Regions from separate parts of the Homo sapiens genome. Here regions 2 and 3 are each linked to region 1. Evidence: promoter capture Hi-C in human tissues and cell types (Jung and others, 2019). All regions are on one chromosome and are shown on one strand. Each heading gives the region's core, a stretch centred on a gene start or on the middle of the fragment in contact. The rest is flanking DNA. Distances are from core to core; before and after follow the strand shown.

Region 1 (2,794 bases), core at 127-2,626:
CCAAGAAAGAGAGAATCCCTGCCCTCTGGAAGCCGTGGCCATGGAAACAACTGCCCTGCTGAGTGATGGCTATGGGACGCCTGGGCTGAATGATTCTAGAAAGTTGGAAGGGATGCTATGGAGAACTGCCTAGGTTGTTCACTGCACAAAGTGCTGGCCAAGGGAGCAAGCAAGGCATAGAATCCAGCCTCGCCTCCACTCTCCAGATTCCATACCTTGCTGTGCGCTGTGCCCAGCGGGGAAAGAGCATTGTCTATTTGTGCCCTGGACGTGGAGGTCTTAGAGAATACGTCCCCCATCCTCCATCCTCCACCAACGTGGAGCCCCAGGAGGGCAGAACCTATGTCTGTACAGTTTCCTGCTGGGTCCCCAGCCCCTTGCATGCCCCATAGTCTATGCTCAGATGGAGTGGCTGAATGTATGAATGAGTAGAATGAATGAATAAAATGTATCCTCAAACGAAGATCTGACTAACTTGAGCCTGCGGCCTGAGTCAGTGGGCCTGGAGGGGTAGCACTGGGACCTCTGGTAGCACCTAGAAGGGGAAGTACCTCCCACCACGCTCCCAGTCCTCCCCTAGACAGGGAAGGTGGGAGCCATGGTACCTGGCGGGAGAGAAGACGGGTTCTGCTCTTACTGGTCCAGTCCCAGGCTGAAGTTGAGACGAATGATCAGGACTCAGAATGGGTGGGACAGAGGAACTGAGGGACAGGTAGACCAGTCGTCTGGGATTCAGGGAAGGTTTCACGGAGGATGTGGGACCAGACAGGTGTGTGTATGTGTGTGTGTCGGTGGGGGTGGGGTGGGGAATACTATCCAGAGGGCAGATGGTGAGTAAAGGCAGGGATGGGCAGAGCGTGTTAAGTGGCAGGAGGCTGAGTGAGGAGAGTTGGACCAGAAGTGGAAACTCCTTCGGGATAAAACTCAGAGAGTAGGACTCAGAAAACTTGTTTCGGGTTTGTCCCCTCCCCTTCCCAGCAGGCAGGATGTTGCACAGGGACAGGCACTAAGCAGACAGCCTAGGGAAGGAGGGCCGGGTGAGGAGGGGGGAGGGTGTCTGCTGGCCTTAAGTGACAATCTGTGTGAGAATCGAAGAGCTGAGAGCTCGGGAGCCATTGTAGGTTCTTGAGCAGGGGTGGCCCAAAGTGGGTGGTGCGGAGGGCGACTGGAGAGGAGGAGTCAGCTGGGGAGTCTGAGCGCGGCGCGGCCCGCGGGATGTTGGGGGCCGGGTTCCCTCCGAGCGCCGTGGTCTCCCTGTCCCGGCGCGGCGGGCCGGGTGGGGCCAGGCCTTGGGAGCGCGCGCCGGATCCCAGCGCCGGGCCGGCGGAGGGGCGGGGCCGGGCACGTGTCCTCGGGCCGCTCCCCCCTCCGCCACGTGACCCGCCCAGGGCAGGGTCGGGGCTGGGCTGGGGGCCGCGAGCCCAGGCGTCTGAGACCTACTGACCGGCCGCGGGCAGGGCTGACAGGCGGTGGGGCGGCTCGGCCCCTGGCGGAGTCGGCGGCGGGCGGGGACGCGGCGCTGGGAGGACGCGGCGGCGCTGGGAACGGACGCCTGGGCGCCCCGAGGCGCCGGGATGTGGAGCGGGTAGGTCCGCGCGCGCTCGCGGTCCCGCGCTGGGTCTGGGCCGCGGTCGCCTCCCGGGACGGGAGGATTTCGGGGGTCCCCGCCGGGTCTGCGCCGCCACCCGGAGGTGCTGTGCGCCCCCGCCCTGCCTGCAGGCGAGCCGACTTGCAGCCAGGAGACTCCGGGGGAGGGGTCGGGGGTGTCTCTCGGGGTGCAGGGTGCGAAGGGTGGGCAGCCGACCGTCCCGGGGTGACAGCGTCAACTCCTCTTAGCTCATCAGGAGCGCAAGTGAGAAGAGTTGGGGTGTGGGGAAGAGTGTGCACGACTCTGGGGCATGCACCTAGAGGAAGGACCCCCAGCCCACCCTCCCAACCTGTCCCTCAACCCCTTCGCTGGATGAACTCTTGGAAAGCAGTGTAGCTGGGAAAGAGGGGCTGGGTCTTTGCCAGGGTGGCTCCCAAGTTGAGGGCAGAACCTCCTTGTGGGGCTCTGGAAGTACGGAGGCTCTCAGAGGTGTGGAGTGGGAACCCCCCCCGCCCCGGCCCCGCAGCCTGGAGTGGGGTAGCAGAGACTCTGGGTCCTGGATTAGTGGCCCCAGTGGCTGTGTCTGTTCAGGCCACTGGTTCTCAGGGGCAGTTGCAGTTCCTGGCCCATCTGATGTGGGACCCCTGCCCTGTATGTGCAGAAAGGTTGTGGTGTTTTTGTGGAGTTGGGCAAACACTTCCTCTTCCCCGTGGCCGGGAAAGACCAGGTCGTGGAGGAAATGTGGCCAGAATGGGGGACAGGTTGTACTCCTGTGCCCCCTGGGCCAGATGAGTGGTCCCAGGAGAGGGCTACTGCCCAGCTACAGCTGGGGAGTGAGGGAAGCCCCCCGGAAAGGCAGGCAGGATCCACTTCACTCCATGGCACCTAGCAAAGGTTGAGCTGCGATGCTAGGGGAGGGATGGCCTTTCATCCCCAGCAGGGGGTGTGGAGAGAGTGGGCTCCTGTTAGGGGTGAGGTGTGGAGAGGCTTGGGACTTTTTTTTTTTTTGAGACGGAGTCTTGCTCTGTCACCCAGGCTGGAGTGCAGTGGCGAGATCTCAGCTCACTGCAACCTCCGCTGCCTGAGTACAAGCAATTCGCCTGACTCAGCCTCCTGAGTAGCTGCGACTACAGGCACACACCACCACACCCGGCTAATTTTTGTATTTTTAGTAGAGACGGGGTTTCACAATATTGATCAGGCTGG
Region 2 (2,794 bases), core at 170-2,669, 100 kb after region 1:
AGCAGGACGTGGGCAGGGACAACTAAGACAATAAAAGCTGGCCACCCCAGCCAGCTGCTGCAACCCGCTCCAGTTCCCTTACAGGCTGTGGAAGCATTGTTCTTTTGCTCGTCACACTAAACCTTGCTGCTGCTCATTCTTTGGGTCTGCAAAGAGTGTTATTCCTTTAAGAGCTATAACAGCGGGAAGGTCCACGGCTCCATTCTTGAAGTCAGTGAGACCATACCCGCCGGAAGGAACCAACGCCCGACACAGCCCCACCCATCTCTCCTGTTTCTCACCTATACTGAAATTCTTGGGCAAAAGCTGTCTGTGGACACACCCAGGGGAAAGGCCAGCCCAGGCAGGTGTTTCTTAGTGGTTCCCCTCAGCCAATGCTTCCCATTCCTTGATGCATCCTTCTAACTAGAGCAGATACTCGGTGATCTTAAACTGTGGACACCTGGGAGCACCCTCAAAAGGCAGCTGGGCCTAGGGAGATGGCCTGTGCTTCTGTGTCAGGAGTTGGTTCCTTCAGGTGGGCTCGTGGTCTCGCTGACGTCAAGAATGAAGCCATGAACCTTCGCGGTGAGTGTTACAGCTCTTACAGGTGGCGTGGACCCAAAGAGTGAGCAGCAGCAAGATTTATTGTGAAGAGCAAAGAACAAAGCTTCCACAGCGTGGAAGGGTACCCGAGCAGGTTGCCGCTGCTGGACGTTGGGGGGTGTGAGGGGGAGCAGCCTTTTTTTTTTTTTTTTTTTTTGAGACGGAGTCTCCCTGTCGCCCAGGCTGGAGTGCAGTGGCGCGATCTCGGCTCACTGCAGGCTCCGCCCTCCCCCGGGGTTCACGCCATTCTCCTGCCTCAGCCTCCCGAGTAGCTGGGACTACAGGCGCCCGCTACCTCGCCCGGCTAATTTTTTGTATTTTTAGTAGAGACGGGGTTTCACTGTGTTAGCCAGGATGGTCTCGATCTCCTGACCTCGTGATCCACCCGCCTTGGCCTCCCAAAGTGCTGGGATTACAGGCGTGAGCCACCGCGCCCGGCCGGGAGCAGCTTTTATTCCCTTATTTGTCCCTGCCCATGTCCTGCTGATTTGTCCATTTTATAGAGCACTGATTGGTCCATTTTACAGGGTGCTGATTGGTCCATTTTACCTCTAGCTAGCTAAAGAGCACGGATTGGTGCATTTTACAAACCTCTAGCTACAGAAAAGTTCTCCAAGTCTGCACTCGACCCAGGAAGTCCATCTGGCTTCACCTCTCACTTCAACTTGGGTACAGCCTTCTGGCGGGCAGGAGGATGGCCTTTGGTGCGAACACTGCCGGAGTCCAGGGGGCTGGCTCCCTCACCTTTCATCTTCTCCCGGCACTTGCAGGATCCCTTTGTGGCCTTCCACATCAACAAGGGCCTTGTGAAGAAGTATATGAACTCTCTCCTGATTGGAGAACTGTCTCCAGAGCAGCCCAGCTTTGAGCCCACCAAGAATGTAAGACCCTGTGTTTGCTATGTCGCAACTATTGGTTGTTGAGGGGGACAGAGAGGGGGTGGAAGGAGAGTCTAGATGGGATCACAGTCATAGTAATCACAGTCAGTAGTAGCTCTGGGGAGTCTTGAGGTCCCTGCTTCTCTTGCATAGTCATGAGGTCACAGGCCCAAGGGAGCATGGCTTTGCAACCTATGGCTCCCCCAAGGCTGCCACTACCATGGCTGCCATCATTGTTATCATCATTGTTATCATATGAGCACTTACTATGCACCAAGCATAAACTCATAACTCTTACACATTTACAGATGAGATAACAGGCTCAGGGAGGTTAAGCAACACAGCCAAGGATCACACAGTTAGTAAATGGCAGAGCAAGGACTTAGTCCCCTGAACTCTTAGGCACTATCCCATGGCACCTCCTCCTGTCATCCTCATTGTCGTGGTATCTTTGCCTAGGACTGTGGACTTCCCACAGCTACCTCAGTGGGAGGTCCTTGAGCCTGAGAGGGCCCTTGTCTCCAGTAGCATTGGGGTGCAGATGAGAAGAATAACAGCTCCTCTTCCTCTTCTGCAGAAAGAGCTGACAGATGAGTTCCGGGAGCTGCGGGCCACAGTGGAGCGGATGGGGCTCATGAAGGCCAACCATGTCTTCTTCCTGCTGTACCTGCTGCACATCTTGCTGCTGGATGGTGCAGCCTGGCTCACCCTTTGGGTCTTTGGGACGTCCTTTTTGCCCTTCCTCCTCTGTGCGGTGCTGCTCAGTGCAGTTCAGGTGAGAGCCTTTGGCTTGTCAAGTGCACAGCAATGCTCAGCATCCCTGGGGAAAGCTCCTTGGGTGTTTGAGGAAGGCCAAGAGTGCCTGCCCTCCAAGCAGGGCAGATCTGAAGGTATGCAGGAGTGAGTGCAGGAACATGCATTCTGCTGTCTTGACCTGTCTGCTCTTTAGCCACATGGACATCTTCATTTCTCTCACTGCCTTTTTAGCTGCTTCTCCAAGGGTTCTCTTCTTCCTATGCGGTTTGTTCTCTGCCACAGCCCACCTGTGCCAGGAGCCAAGTTTCTGGTTTCTTAGCAAAGCTTGGCTCCCTCCCCACCACTGACATTGCCCAATATGTTAATAATGATTGAGCGCTAATTCTTGACTGTCAGGACCCATTTGGCAAGCCTTCTGCTCATGTTTCAGTCCTTTCTGTATTCTAGATGTCAGTCCATCATAAGTCATGAGCTTCAGGCCAGGTGTGGTGACTCATGTCTGTAATCCTAGCACTTTGGGAGGCCAAGGTGGCCGGATCACTTGATCTCAGTTCAAGACCAGCCTGGCCAACGTG
Region 3 (2,794 bases), core at 90-2,589, 71 kb before region 1:
TCTTATTTCTGAGATCTCTATTCTGTTCTATTGGTCTGTGTGTCTGTACTTGTACCAGTACCATGCTGTTTGGTTACTGTAGCCTTGTAGTATAGTTTGAAGTCAGGTAACATGATTCCTCCAGCTTTGTCCTTTTTGCTTAGGATAATCTTGGCTATACAGGCTCTTTTTTGGTTCCATATAAATTTCAAAGTAGTTTTTTCTAATTCTGCAAAGAATGTCAATGGTAGTTTAATGAGAATAGCATTGAATCTGTAAATTACTTTGGGCAGTATGGCCATTTTCATGATATTGCTTCTTCCTATCCACGAGCATAAAATGATTTTCCATTTGTTTGTGTCCTCTCTGATTTCCTTGAGCAGTGGTTTGTAGCTCTCCTTGAAGAAATCCTTCACTTCCCTTGTTAGCTGTATTCCTAGGTATTTTACTCTTTGTAGCAATTGTGAATGGGAGTTCATTCGTGATTTGGCTCTCTGTCTATTGTTGGTGTATAGGAATGCTTGTGATTTTTGCACATAGATTTTGTATCCTGAGACTTTGCAGAAGTTGCTTATCAGCTTAAGATGCTTTTGGGCTGAAACGATGGGGTTTTCTAGATATAGGATCATGTCATCTGCAAACAGAGACAGTTTGACTTCTTCTTTTCCCCTATTTGAATACCCTTTATATCTTTCTCTTGCCTAATTGCCCTGGCCAGAACTTCCAATACTATGTTGAATAAAAGCGGTGAGAGAGGACATCCTTGTCTTGTGCCAGTTTTCAAGGGGAATGCTTCCAGCTTTTGCCCATTCAGTATGATATTGGTTGTGGGAGTGTCATAAATGACTCTTATTATCTTTAGGTATGTTCCTTCAATCCTTAGTTTTACCACAAAATAATAAGAGCCATTTATGATGTTGAATTTTATCGAAGGCCTTTTCTGCATCTATTGAGATAATCATATGTTTTTTGCCTTTAGTTCTGTTGAATTATGTTTATTGACTTGCATCTGTTGAACCAGCCTTGCATCCCAGGGATGAAGCCAACTTGATCATGGTGGATAAGCTTTTTAATGTGCTGCTGCATTCAGTTTGCCAGTATTTTATTGAAGATTTCCACATGGATGTTCATCAGGGATATTGGCCTGAAGTTTTCTTTTTTTGTTGTATCTCTGCCAGGTTTTGGTATCAGAATGATGCTGACCTCGTAAAATGGGTTAGGGAGGAGTCCCTCCATTTCAATTGTTTGGAATAGTTTCAGAAGAAATGGTACCAGCTCCTCTTGGTACCTCTGGTAGAATTCAGCTGTAAAGCCATTTTGTAGACTATTTATTCCTGCCTCAATTTCAGAACTTGTTATTAGTCTGTTCAGGGATTCAACTTCTTCCTGGTTCAGTCTTTGAGGGGGTATGTGTCCAGGAATTTATCCATTTCTTCTGGATTTTCTAGTTTATTTGCATAGAGGGGTTTATAGTATTCTCTAATGGTTGTTTGTATTTCTGTGGGGTCAGTGGTGGTATCCCCTTTATCATTTTTTATTGTGTTTATCAGTCTAGCTAGCGATCTATTTTACTAATTTTTTCAAAAAGCCAGCTTTATTGATTTTTTTGAAGGTTTTTTTTTTTTTTTTTTTTTTTTTTGAGACAGAGTCTTGCTCTGTCACCAGGCTGGAGTGCAGAGGCACGATCTCGGCTCACTGCAACCTCCGCCTCCTGGGTTAAAGCGATTCTCCTGCCTCAGCGTCCCGAGTAGCTGGGACTTCAGGTGCATGCCACCGCGCCCAGCTAATTTTTGTATTTTTAGTACAGACAGGGTTTCACCATGTTGGCCAGGATGGTTTTTATCTCTTGACCTCATGATCTGCCCACCTTAGCCTCCCAAAGTGTTGGGATTACAGGCATGAGCCACCGCGCCTGGCTGAAAGGGCATGAGCCACTGCGCCTGGCTGAAGGGGTGTGAGCCACCGCGCCTGGCTGAAGGGTTTTTTGTGTCTGTATCTCCTTCAGTTCTGCTCTGATCTTGGTTATTTCATTTCTTCTGCTTGCTTTGGGGTTTGTTTGCCTTGGGTCTCTAGTTCTCTCAGTTGTGATGTTAGGGTGTAGATTTGAGATTTTTCTAGCTTTTAGATGTGGATATTTAGTGCTATAAATTTCCCTCTTAATACTGCTTTAGCTGTGTCCCAGAGATTCTGGTACATTGTCTCTTTGTTCTCATTGATTTCAAAGAACTTCTTGATTTCTTGATTTCTGCCTTAATTTCATTCTTTACCTAGGAGTCATTCAGGAGCAGGTTATTCAGTTTCCCTGTAGTTGTGTGGTTTTAAATGAGTTTCTTAATCACAAGCTCTAATTTGATTACGCTGTGGTCTGAGAGACTGTTTGTTATGATTTCAGTTCTTTTCCATTGCCAGGGAGTGTTTTACTTCAAATTCTGTGATCAAATTAGAGTAAGAGCCATGTGGTGCTGAGGAGAATGTATATGCTGTTGTTTTTGGGTAGAGAGTTCTGTAGATCTCTAACAGATCCACTTGATCCAGAGCTGAGTTCAAGTCCTGAATATCCTTGTTAATTTGCTGTCTCGATGATCTGTCTAATATTAACAGTGAAGCGTTAAAGTCTCCCACTATCATTGTGTGGGAGTCTAAGTCTCTTCGTAGATCGCTATGAACTTTTTTTATGAATCTGGGTGCTCCTGTGTTGGGTGCATACATGTATTCTGGATAGTTAGCTATTCTTATTAAATTGAACCGTTTACCATTATGTAATGTCCTTGTCTTTTTTTTTTTTTTTTTATCTTTGTTGGTTTAAACTCTGTTT

Evidence for each region. Contacts are between HindIII fragments. The study calls those that stand out against the background at their distance.
Region 2: a contact is called between a fragment that was not itself captured here and the fragment with the promoter of RAB3IL1 in region 1, in 2 of the 25 tissues and cell types used here (IMR-90 fibroblasts and bladder).
Region 3: a contact is called between a fragment that was not itself captured here and the fragment with the promoter of RAB3IL1 in region 1, in 3 of the 25 tissues and cell types used here (H1 embryonic stem cells, adrenal gland and neural progenitor cells).

Annotation. Positions count from the first base shown.
Region 1 is chr11:61,916,148-61,918,941 of GRCh38, reverse strand. It overlaps RAB3IL1 (RAB3A interacting protein like 1), which reads left to right and starts at 1,376. Exons shown (of 10, transcript NM_013401.4): 1 at 1,376-1,585. The coding sequence starts at 1,575. The HindIII fragment of the contact is 7,999 bases long and covers 1-2,733 here.
Region 2 is chr11:61,811,915-61,814,708 of GRCh38, reverse strand. FADS1 (fatty acid desaturase 1) reads left to right here. Exons shown (of 12, transcript NM_013402.7): 2 at 1,356-1,466; 3 at 2,041-2,238. Among named protein-coding and RNA genes, the nearest start is that of MIR1908, 1.9 kb to the left of the region's middle. The HindIII fragment of the contact is 3,503 bases long and covers 1-2,794 here.
Region 3 is chr11:61,987,335-61,990,128 of GRCh38, reverse strand. No RefSeq gene overlaps it. Among named protein-coding and RNA genes, the nearest start is that of FTH1, 21 kb to the right of the region's middle. The HindIII fragment of the contact is 6,875 bases long and covers 1-2,794 here.